Regions from separate parts of the Homo sapiens genome. Here region 2 is linked to region 1. The links are contacts of gene promoters, found by promoter capture Hi-C in human tissues and cell types (Jung and others, 2019). All regions are on one chromosome and are shown on one strand. Each heading gives the region's core, a stretch centred on a gene start or on the middle of the fragment in contact. The rest is flanking DNA. Distances are from core to core; before and after follow the strand shown. Region 1 holds the start of SLC13A5 (solute carrier family 13 member 5). Region 2 has its middle 16 kb from the start of MIR4520-1.

The links. Contacts are between HindIII fragments. The study calls those that stand out against the background at their distance.
Region 2: a fragment that was not itself captured here is called in contact with the fragment with the promoter of SLC13A5 in region 1 in 1 of the 25 tissues and cell types used here (ovary).

Annotation. Positions count from the first base shown.
Region 1 is chr17:6,711,695-6,718,068 of GRCh38, reverse strand. It overlaps SLC13A5 (solute carrier family 13 member 5), which reads left to right and starts at 4,700. Exons shown (of 12, transcript NM_177550.5): 1 at 4,700-4,837. The coding sequence starts at 4,736. The HindIII fragment of the contact is 16,548 bases long and covers 1-6,374 here.
Region 2 is chr17:6,668,436-6,674,255 of GRCh38, reverse strand. No RefSeq gene overlaps it. Among named protein-coding and RNA genes, the nearest start is that of MIR4520-1, 16 kb to the right of the region's middle. RefSeq lists a silencer at 3,911-4,065. The HindIII fragment of the contact is 4,115 bases long and covers 493-4,607 here.

The sequences.
Region 1 (6,374 bases), core at 3,451-5,950:
TGAGCAATTCCTGTCCCTCTTAAGGGCTCACAGCTCTAAGGGGGTGCGCGTGAGAGGGTCGTGATCGATTGAGCAAGCAGGGGGTATGTGACTGGGGGCTGCATGCACCGGTAATCAGAACAAAACAGAACAGGACAGGGATTTTTACAATCCCTGGAATCTATAGACAACATAACCGGTTAGGTCAGGGGTGGATCTTTAACTACCAGGCCCAGGGCATGGCGCTGGTATGTCTGCCTGTGGATTTCATTTCTGCCTTTTAGTTTTTACTTCTTTCTTTGGAGGCAGAAATTGGGCATAAGACAATATGAGGGGTGGTCTCCTCCCTTAATAGGTTACTAAAAGTAGCCACATCAAGACAAAATTATCGTGATCTAATATACTTTATGCATTTTATGGTAAGTTACCAATACAAGATCTAAATTCGGATGCACTTTCTTTTTCATTACTTCATTTTTTATAGTGCAATGAAATATGTGGCTAAAATTTTAAGTTATCTGTGAAGTAGAAGTATGACAACAGGCAGGGCTTTTCTTTCGTAAAAAAATCTGTGTGCATAAATTGAACTCATGTTCAGCTCTTGGGAATAATTAAATAAGACTCATAAATTAAAAAATCGGAAATAGGTTGGGCGCGGTGGCTCATGCCTGTAATCCCAGCACTTTGGGAGGCCGAGGTGGGCAGATCATGAGGTCAGGAATTCGAGATTAGCCTGGCCAATATGGTGAAACACCATCTCTACTAAAAATACAAAAAAAAAAAAAAAAAAAATTAGCCAGGCGTGGTGGCACGCACCTGTAGTCCCAGCTACTCGGGAGGCTGAGGCAGAAGAATTGCTTGAATCCGGGAGGCGGAGGTTGCAGTGAGCCGAGATTGTGCCACTGCACTCCAGCCTGGGTGACAGAGTGAGACTCCATCTCAAAAAAAAAAAAAAAAATCAGAAATAACCTTATTATTAGAAATTATGCTCAAACTTCTCCTACATGTATTTAGCATACTTAGTGAAAGAAAAATGTCTATATTGCTAAAAACTAATTGATCCAGCAACTGAGAGTACACTTTGGATAGATCACTCAATCTCTGTTGTAAATAAAGTTTCCATGCAACCATGGGTCTATTTCTAGGCTCTATTCTACTCTTTTTCTAACCTCATGTCAATAGTTAATGATTACATCAACTATTACAAGTTAGTCATTCTTGAAGTCTAAATGGCAATTTCCCCCGTGTTTTTCCAGAAGTGTCGTAATTATTCTTGGCTTACCTGCTATTCTACCTGAATTTTAGGCTTGTTAACTAAAAATCCTGTTGGGATTTTAATTGGAATTGAATTGAATTTATAGGTTAATTTGAGAGAAATGGATAGTCCTACAATGTGTGGTCTCCCTATCCGTGAACTTGGTATAATCTCTCCATTTATTTAGCTTGTTGTTGTTGTAGCACTTTGGCCTTGGAATTTTTCTTAACAATCTTAATATTCTTTTTCATTTGGTGCTAACTTTGACTATCCTCCACTGCTGCCTGGCAAATTATTACTTAGCCATTAAGTTTTTTTTTTTTTTTTTTTTTTTGCAGGGGGACGGAGTCTGGCTCTGTCACCCAGGCTGGAGTGCAGTGGTGCGATCATGGCTCACTGCAAGCTCTGCCACCTCCTCTGTGAAACCTTCCTTCATTACTTAGGCAGAGTTGGTGGATCCTTCTCTTAAGGCCTCACCAACCAGGGTATTTTGCATACAATTGCAAGAATGGATATTTACTAACAGCTGACTATATGCCAACGCACTGAGTTAAGCTCTGACCATGAACTCATATAATCTCCAAAACAGCCATTTAAAATCAAAGTTGGTGCTATTATCTCCATTTATGACAGGATAAGCTCATAGAGAGCAACTTGTCTGAGGCACACAGCCAGGATGAGCTAGGGCAAGATATAAGCCCAGGAACTCTAGCCTCAGAGTCCATGCTCTGGTGAATCCCTTTGGAAGCAGTTGTATTAAGAACAGAAGTTGTACTTTTACATTGTTGGTGGGAGTGTAAATTAGTTCAACCATTGTGGAAGACACTGTGGCGATTCCTCAAGGATCTAGAACCAGAAATATCATTTGACCCAGCAATTTTATTACTGGGTATATACCCAAAGGATTATAAATCATGCTGCTATAAAGACACATGCACACTATTTACAATAGCAAAGACTTAAAACCAACCCAAATGTCCATCAATGATAGACTGGATAAAGAAAATGTGGCACATACATACCATGGAATACTATGCAGCCATTAAAAATAATGAGGTCATGTCCTTTGCAGGGACATGGATGAAGCTGGAAGCCATCATTCTCAGCAAACTAACACAGGAACAGAAAACCAAACACCACATGTTCTCAGTCATAAGTGGGAGTTGAACAGTGAGAACGCATTGACACAGGGAGGGGAACATCACACACGGGGGCCTGTCAGGGGGTTGGAGGGCAAGGGGAGGGAGAGCATTAGGACAAATACCTAATGCATGTGGGTCTTAAAACCTAAATGTCCGGTTGATAGCTGCAGCAAACCACCATGGCACATGTATACCTATGTAACAAACCTGCACATTCTGCACATGTATCCCAGAACTTAAAGTAAAATTAAAAAAAAAGAAAAGAAAAAAGAACTGAAGTTGTTTACTTGCTCTCATTCATGCATCCCGGAGAAAAAGGTTTGAGTGCACATCCTGGATTAGGCACTGAGAAAGGCACTAGCTGGACAGGTGGTGATGAATAAAACAGACAGTAAATAGAAATTACATCATAATAATGTGTCATATATTTTAAAATAGCTACAAGATATTTTAAATGTTCTCACCACAAAGAAATGACAAATATTTGGGCCAGACGCGGTGGCTCACGCCTGTAATCCCAGCACTTTGGGAGACCGAGGTGGGCGGATCACCTGAGGTCAGGAGTTCGAGACCAGCCTGGCTAACATGGTGAAACCCCATTTCTACTAAAAATGCAAAAAATTAGCCGGGCGTGGTGGTGCACACCTGTAATCCCAGCTACTTGGGAGGCTGAAGCAGGAGATTTGCTTGAACCTAGGTGGCAGAGGTTGCAGTGAGCCGAGATCGTGCCACTGCACTCCAGCCTGGGTGACAGGAGCACAACTCTGTCTCAAACAAACAAACAAAAAACAAAAACAAGAGAAATGATAAATATTCGAGTGATAAATATGCTCATTAGCCTGATTTGAACACACCACAATTATACACACATTGAAAAATCACATGGTACCCCGTAAATATAGACAATGATTTGTCAATTAAAAATGAAATAACACTTAAAAAATAAAAAAGTAAAAAGTAAAAATTACACCAATAAATATAAGAGGTACAAATTGTGCTAAGTGCCCTGGGGACACAGGAAAGGCGGGAAAACCCAGGGCTATATGCATGAGAGTTACAAAGGGAAAAGGACAGGAGGGAGGCAATTGCAGGAGGGGCTTGGGAGAATGCATGTCCTTGGGTGCAGGTCACAGGAAGGAACTCATGAGCTTGATTCAGGATGTGTTGAATTTTCGGGCCGAGACACGTCCAGTCTGCGGAAGGCTGGACATCTGGGACTCTGGCATCATGGCTGGGTTGAAGGCAGAGGATGGTAATCACTAAGGAGCCGGCTGTGGTTAGGCCACCAGCATGGATGAGACTCCCCAAAAGGAAGCTGCAGAATGAGAGGCAGGCAGAGGAGAGGAAAGAAGAAAATCACAGAGGTGGGGATGTCTTTGCATCCGTGTGTCTCCAGTGCCCAAAACAGGGCCTCGCGGAGAAGAGGTGCTCGGCACCTGTCTGTTGCCTGGCGGGCTGAATGAATACATGGGCGACTGTCTCAGTGTCGCCTTAGTTGTGTCCCTTCCTCTCTAGAGCTCCGTTTCCCTCTGACCTGGGTCGGGCGGGCAGCTGCGGCTGCTGAGGCTCGGTGGGGCCCCTCCAAGACGCGTGTCCGCATCTGCCCGCCGGGCGTCTGCGGGGTGCAGCGTCCACTGGAGCGCGACAGCCCCTGGGACAGAGGAGGACAGTGGCCTCGCTTCCCTGTGCGATCGCCCAGGAGCTCCGGGCCGGAGAGTGCGAGCGGGGAAAAGGGGTCCTGCACCTAGAGTGGGGCGGACGTGGCGAGGAAGCCAGGGGGGACCGGGAAGCGAGGCCCGCGGTGCGGAGGGCGCGGGGCGTGGGGGGACACCTCTCGGAGAGACACCGGAGGGGCGGAAGTAAGGAGATGGAAAGGAGAGGGAGATCGGGGAGATAGACCTGAGAGACCCAGAGGCCTGCAGAGAGTTTCATCCGGGACCCTTCAGAGCCCAGGAAAGAGCAGATGCGGACGCGGGAGGGCGCCTTACGCCAAAGCGGGCAGCACCAGTGACCAAAACACGCCCCGCTTGGCAGCCCCGGGACGCACCTCTGCCTCGGCAGCGCAGGAGAGGCTTGGACAGCGCGAGATGCTAGGGCCCAGGCTGCCCCTAGAGGGCTGGCCCGAAGCGTTGGAGTCCAAAGACGCCTCCCACCGCCGCCGGGTGGCAGAATTGGGGGCAGGCGCGTCCCACAGACCCCGAGGGGTGGCCCCGCCCCAGGGCCGCGGGGAGGCGCCCCCGTGCGGGGCGGAGTTGTCACCGCCCCCTCCCCAATCCCCGGGGACTGTGGCCCCTTCTTAAGCCCGCGGCGCCTCTAGCTGCCCCTCACTCGTCTCGCCCGCCAGTCTCCCTCCCGCGCGATGGCCTCGGCGCTGAGCTATGTCTCCAAGTTCAAGTCCTTCGTGATCTTGTTCGTCACCCCGCTCCTGCTGCTGCCACTCGTCATTCTGATGCCCGCCAAGGTCAGTTGCATCTCCAGGCAGCCCTTCGGACACCCGGCGTCCTGTGCCCACTAACGGGCACCGATCCCGGGAGCCCTGAGCTGGAGCGCACGGATTTCGCGGGGAGCACAGCTCTCCCGGGGCGCGCGCACTCAGGAGCTCCAGGTGCCGGATGGGAGGTGCCCTGTAAAGAATCTGAGGGGCATGGCGACCCCAGGGCGCACCACCCTTGGGGTTTACAGATCCCAGGGCGCAAGAGCCGTCCAGGCAAGCACGGAAACCTCGAAGTGAGCACAGATCTCAGCCACACAGATCCCAGCCTTAGGCTCAGCCCCTGGCTCCGAATCGAATCTCCCACAGTGCATAACCCTGTTTCCCCCCAAAATGCCACCTGCGCCAACAGGGAACCTGGGAGCTTGCCTTTCCCTCTCTCTCTCCTGTCTTTTCCCTTCGCCAAAGAAGACTTCAAGCTGTAGGTGGCTTCTGCCGTCAGGAGGGACCTACAGGAAAAAAATCATCACCCACGTGGATCCTGCGCTGTCTTTGCCACTCTCTGGCCCTTCCTTGGGCCTTAGTGTCTCTATCTATGATCCACATTCCTTCCAACCTGGAGAGCCACATCTGATTCATAATCCTGCTCCAGGCTGCAGGCAGGTTGGGGTTGGCCTGCTTTGCCTCCTGCCTGCTGGGGCTGTAGCAGGAGGCGGGACACATTCCCAGAGCTCGCGCCTTGGGTGGCAGGACCTGGAGTTGCAGGGAAGCTTCCTCCCAGGCCCTAGTCTCCTAATGCTTCTGTGAGGGAGAGAGAGAATGAATGGCCTTGGCCGCAGGGTGGGCGCAGGCTCCACTGGGCTGTGCACAGCCAGTTTGGCGGAGGCCCAAGCCCTTTGAAGCCTTTTGTGGCTGCTGGCTGCTCCTTCCTCGTTCCTTCTTTCAGCCCTTTCACTCTCAGCCCAGACAGGAAACCTCCAGCTCCCCACCTCCCCTCCCCAGGCAGGTTTGGGAAACAGAGGAGCTCTTCAGGGGATGCTCTGGGGGGGAGCTCTAGAGGAAGGGAGTGCACTGGGGTGTCAGGAAGCCAACCTGCAAGAGAACTGGACTTCCACCATTCTGTCATCTGTGTGACTTTAGCCAAGTGCCTGTGCTCTCTGGGCCTTGGTGTTCTCATCTGTACAATGGGGCTAGGTGGTTTGGTTCTGACACTTTAAGGCTTTGGGAATCAAAAGGGATTAACGTTAGTTCCTAGGATGGGGGAGGGGGAGACTGGGAGGAGCCCTTGGGTGGGCCTAGCACAGGCCCTGGATGGGTCAAGGACAGCAGATCCAACTGTGGAGGCTGTGCAGTTGCCACACCAACTGTGGGCAGCCACACTTCCTCTGTAGCAAGAAGTCTGGGGTTGTTATTGTCCAGGGGAAGTAGCCAGGCAGGAGAGCTGCGATTTCAGCTCTGCTGGTAGGGAGTGATGTTCCCTGGAATGATTATAGTAGCTTGGCTGACCTTCCTGCCACAGGAGACCCCACTCACACACACACACATACACACTCTCTCTCTCACACAC
Region 2 (5,820 bases), core at 1,301-3,800, 42 kb after region 1:
TTTCCCAGCTGACCTCCCTATTTCCTGTCTCCCTCAAGCCAGTCCACCAGAAACATCTCTGTAAAACCCAGCTTTGATGCTTAAGGACCCATCAAGGGCCTCTCTCTGTCTATAGGGTAAATCCAAACTCCAAGTTTCTTTATGACTTGGTTCCAATCCACATTCCAGCATCACAGCTGGGAACAGGAGCTGTGGCATGGAGGTGACATGAAGTACAAGGGCCCTGGGGCCCAACGGCACAGGCTCCAACTCGGGCTCCAACTCTTAGTAACCGAATGTGAGTCCAGGCAGGTTCCTTTTTCTTTTTCTTTTTGAGACAGAGTTTCGCTCTTCTTGCCCAGGCTGGAGTGCAATGGCGCGATCTCAGCTCACTGCAACCTCCACCTCCTGGGTTCAAGCAATTCTCCTGCAATTCTCCTGCCTCAGCCTCCTGAGTAGCTAGAATTACAGGTGCACACCACCATGCCTGGCTAATTTTTCTATTTTTAGTACAGACGGGGTTTCACCATGTTGGCCAGGCTGGTCTCGAACTCCTGACCTCAGGTGATCCACCTGCCTCGGCCTCCCAAAGTGCTGGGATTACAGGCGTGAGCCACTGTGCCCGGCCAGGCAAGTTCCTTAACCTTAATCTGCGTGCTTTAGCTCCTCCACTTCTTGCTATTTATATGGGGTTGCTGTGAAGACAGAATGAAATAACACACTCCTAGAACCACCCTCGTCATGTCCCTTTTCCTCTCCAAGACTTAGCTGACCGATCACTGAAAGGAGGCAACAGAAATACTGTCTTTCGAGTTAGTCGATGTTTCTTTGAATGATATTTCTTGGTGTAGTTGATGGTGTGTGGCGAGATGGGCATGTGTTAGTTCAACCTTTCTCAAAAGTAAAATAAAAATACACATGCGAAATCTTAAAACATGCCTATACCCTATGAGTAGGAATCTAAGCTAAGGGAAAAATGAAATTGTGGACAAAAATTTATGCATAAAGATGCTTACTTTAGTATTTTTTGTTTTGTTTTTGAGACGGAGTCTCACTCTGTCTCCCAAGCTGGAGTGCAGTGGGGCGATCTTGGCTCACTGCAACCTCTGCCTCCTGGGCTCAAGTGATCCTCCCACCTCAGCCTCCCCCACTCCAGTCCCCAGGTAGCTGGGACTACAGGCGTCAGCCACCACACCCAGTATTTTTTTTTTTTGAGATGGAGTCTCACTCTGTCCCCCAGGCTGTGGTGTGCAGTGGCGTGATCTCAGCCCACTGCAACCCCTCCACCCCTCCCAGTTCAAGCAATTCTCCTGCCTCAGCCTCCTGAGTTGCTGGGATTACAGGCACCTGCCACCATGCCCAGCTAATTTTTGTATTTTCAGTAGAGACGGGGTTTCACCGTGTTGGCCAGGCTGATCTGAAACTCCTGACCTCAAGTGATCTGCCCACCTTGGCCTCCCAAAATGCTGGGATTACAGGTGTAAGCCATGACGCCTGTCCCAAGATGTTTACTTTGGTATATTTTTATATCCTTGAAAAACTGAAAACATACATGCCTGACATTTAGGTAATATTAGTTAAGGTGTGTCAGCTCAAAAGACTATTATGCAGTCATTAACAGTGTTTTTAAAGAATATTTCGTTATATTGAAAATGCATATAATCGGAGGTAAATAAATCACGTATAATGTATGGTCGTAGTGATAATAAAAATATGCGAGCACAGAAAAGGTTGATATTGAAATAGAATAGCAGTTATCTTTGATGAACGGATAGAAGGATTAATATTTTCTCCTTTATAGTTTTCTGTATTTTCCAAATATCCTAGAAACAGGCATGCATTATTTGTATAATTTTTTAAAAGCTTAACGTTAAAATGTTAAATAAAATGAGAGGGTAGGGCCGGGCGTGGTGGCTCATGCCTGTAATCCCAGCACTTTAGGAGGCCGAGGCAGGTGGATCATGAGGTCAGGAGTTTGAGATCAGCCTGGCCAACATGGTGAAATCCCATCTCCACTAAAACATACAAAAATTAGCCGGGCATGGTGGTGCACGCCTGTAGTCCCAGCTACTCGGGCAGCTGAGGCAGAAGAATCGCTGGAACCCGGAAGGTGGAGGTTGCAGTGAGCCGAGATCACGCCACTGCACTCCAGCCTGGGCGACACAGAGAGACTCCGTCTCAAAAAAAAAAAAAAAAAAAAAAAAGAGAGAGAACTTGATGTCAGAGTTCCCTTCTGGCTGGTATCAATCTACGATTCTAATAGGCTGGGACCACCCACAGGGCCTGAGAGGTGACTGCAGAGAGCCCTCAAGACCTGCCTCAAAGACAAGCAGCCACAGGGCAGGTCCAGAGCCCGGAGTCAGCAACTCACTGATCATGAGGATTCGCCAAGTACATCCACACAGCCTTCCCTTGAAGCCAGCTGCCTCTCTAGAGTCTTTCTGAAACTTTCCCAAGTGTTGAAGACTCTTCCACGCCATTGAAAGTGGGCAGGGTGACAGCCCCACTCTGACCCTGCTAAACCATGGGGCCTCGGTGGCCCCCCGTCCACCTGGTGCCAAGTGGGGTTTGGCCTGAGAGGTGAGCTCTTTCTGCCACTTCAGGTAAGGGGCTCGTTGGAGAAGGTAGGCAGGCGGCGCCATTGTCACCTCTGTGGACCTGTCTACTGTCCACACATCTGGACTTTGGGGACACCACTTTCTGGCTCTTTCAGACCACACACCCCCAACGGCCAGGACACACAACACTGTCTGGTGAGTTGTCCTGAGGGTGGGGCTTCTGGAACACTTCCTAAGAGGGAGTCACTGAGGGACAGCCTGCTCACTCCCAGCTACTTCTGGGATCTCAGAATCACTGGATCCAATCGAGCAGGTCAGCCCAGCTGAGGCTACCTGGAGAAATGAAAGGGGCCTTTGGTGAGGCCCTGGTGGAAGGAAGGGCAGGGCACCATGTGAGTTCACAAAGGGAGCTCCCCGGGGAGGGAGCCCTTGGAGGCAGGAGCCTGGAGCCCTGTGCCCAGAACCCTGCGCCCCGCCTCTAGACTGCAGCTTGTCAGGGCTTGGCTAGGACCTCCATGAACCAGCTCCACACCTGGCCAGTTAGGAACCAGAGAAACTCAGAGGAATCAGAGGCTAAGACACTGAGACAGACAGGCTTAGAGGGACAGTAAGAACAGCAGTCGGCGGGAGGCAGGCAGAGGTGTGGGGAGACACAGGCTGAGAAACAGACAGTGCCTGAGACAGGGCGGAGAGGCCCCCACTAGGCAGACTGTGCACATCAGCACCTCCAAACAGGCTCACCCTCACGATCACCAGGGAACGCAAATTAAAGTCCCCCTGATGTGCCATTCATTTCACACCTATGAAATTAGCAAACATTAACAAAATTATAATGTCTCATGCTGTTGAAGCTGTGCTGAAACCAGCTTACACACACTGCCAGTGGCAGTGTAAATTAACACCACCTTTTTAGGGGAGAAATTGGGCAATACGCTTCCAGAGCTATAAAAATGTTCATACCTTTTAATGTGGTAATTCTGCTCCTGGGAATGTGTTGTAAGGAAGTCATTCAACAGAACCATGAAAGACGTGTATCTAAAGACCATGAGGGCAGTGCTCTCCGCTATATCCCGGGGGCTCTAGTATGGCCGCCATGAATATTTTTTAAAATAGGGAATATTAAGACTATAGGCTGGGCGCGGTGGCTTGAGCCTGTAATCCTGGCACTTTGGGAGGCCGAGGTGGGTGGATCACCTGAAGTCAAGGGTTCGAGACCAACCTGGCCAACATGGCAAAACCCCGTCTCTACTAAAAATACAAAAATTAGCCAGATGTGGTGGCAGGCACCTGTAATCCCAGCTACTCAGGAGGCTGAGGCAGGAGAATTGCTTGAACCCGGGAGGTGGAGGTTGCAGTGAGCTGAGATTGCGTCACTGCACTCCAGCCTGGGTGACAAAGACTCTGTCTCAAAAAAAAAAAAAAAAAAAAAGACTATATAGTATAACATTTAAGGGTTCTTAGAATATGTGAAAATGAGCAGAAAATAAAACCATCTGTACATTAAAATTAATAATTCCATAAAACAGCTGCCTGAAAGCTCAGGGCAGCCCCACCCTTGCTGGTGGAGGGTGAATGGTTCTTGATTCCCGGCTGGCCATACAGACACTCCTGTCTTCCCACTGAGGGGCCTGCCCTGCCGCTCCCTGTCTGGAAGCCTAATCTGCAGACCTCAGACCGGTGGGGAGACAGGCTCAGCAAAGCCTGCCCACCTGGCCAGCTCATGGGAGTGGCCCTGGGGAGTCTGAATGGTGCTCACTGAGTCACATCCGCTGAGGTGTGTCTCTGATGTCACACCTACAGAGGCCAAACCAGAAAGGAAAAGAAAGAGATGGTGGGGTTGGGTCTTGGTTTAAGAAAGGGATGCAGTGATTCTGCAAGTTCTGAAGTGTCTTGCTTGTTGCAAGCACAGCGGTCTGTTTAAGCCAGCTGACGTCTGGATGCCCAGCTGGTGCATCACCAGCTGAAGACAATTTAGAATAGATGGAAGGCAAAGGAAGAAGGGATCCTGGGGTCACCCCTCCTGGACTGCTCCGACAGTAGGCACGATCTCATTCTAAACTTGATCATCCAGTTCTGCATGTTTCCCACCACTATTACCCATCACAGAAGCTGGCACTGAACGGGAACTCAGTGAATTGTGGGTGGATGAAAAGGTGAGAATTTGACATATTCTAAGACCACGTAGTATAATGACCATGTAGTATGAATGAGCACATGTCACCAGACAATTCCAGCTCTATCCAAAGCCTCTCTAGCTTTTCAAAGGTGCCCTTCATCATGTTCTGGGGATGCTATGCCCCTTGTGCCTGCCCTGCTAACTGCCAAGGGGATGCCCTTCCTTACAGAGGCCAAGAACATTCAGTGACCGTGCCCAGGTCCAGACAAGCCCAACCTTGTTCATTCGCTCCACGCATAGCTACAGAACACAAAGAGGCTTTGTGACAGGCCTGCCCTTGATGTGCTTTCAATCTCACGGGAGAGACAGGAGGAAACAACAAAGAATCATTCACGGAGTGACCACATGGATGCTGTAAAAACAGGCAGCAGCGGTGGGGAGCGAGAACACCCAGGAAGTGGGCTCAGAGTCAAGGACTAGGCAAGTCTCCTTGGGGAGGTGGAAATGGAGCAGGAATTTGAGGACAAACAGGAGTTTATCTGACAGAAGGAGCAACCGAGGTCAGGGGCACGTGTGAGTTTGCTTCAGCCTTCCCCAGCTTCTCATCAGTGAACCACAGGCAAGAAATTCATCCCGACCATTCCTTCATTCCTTCATTTATTCCTTCCACCAACACTTACTGCATGCTGGCTCTGTGCCAGACGCTGTTCTAGGTTTGGGGATATAGGAGTAAACAAGTCAAAGTCCTTGCTCTCCCGTGGGGAACATAGATCATAAACAATTAAGCAATGAATAAATAATATCAAGTCCCATTTTAGTAGGCGCTATAGAGAAATAGAAAAGGTTGACCAGGCGTGGTGGCTCATACCTGTAATCCCAGCACTTTGGGAGGCCAAGGTGGGCGGATCACGAGGTCAGAAGTTCGAGACCAGTCTGGCCAATATGGTGAAACCCTGTCTCTACTAAAAATACAAAAAATTAGCCTGATATGGTGGTGTGCACCTGTAATCCCAGCTACTCAGGAGGCTGAGGCAGGAGAATCGCATGAATCCGGGAGGCGGAGGTTGCAGCGAGCGAGATCACGCCATTGCACGCCAGCCCAAGCAACTGTGCGAGACTCCATCTCAAAACAACAACAACAACAAAAATGAAACTAATTAATCCAGA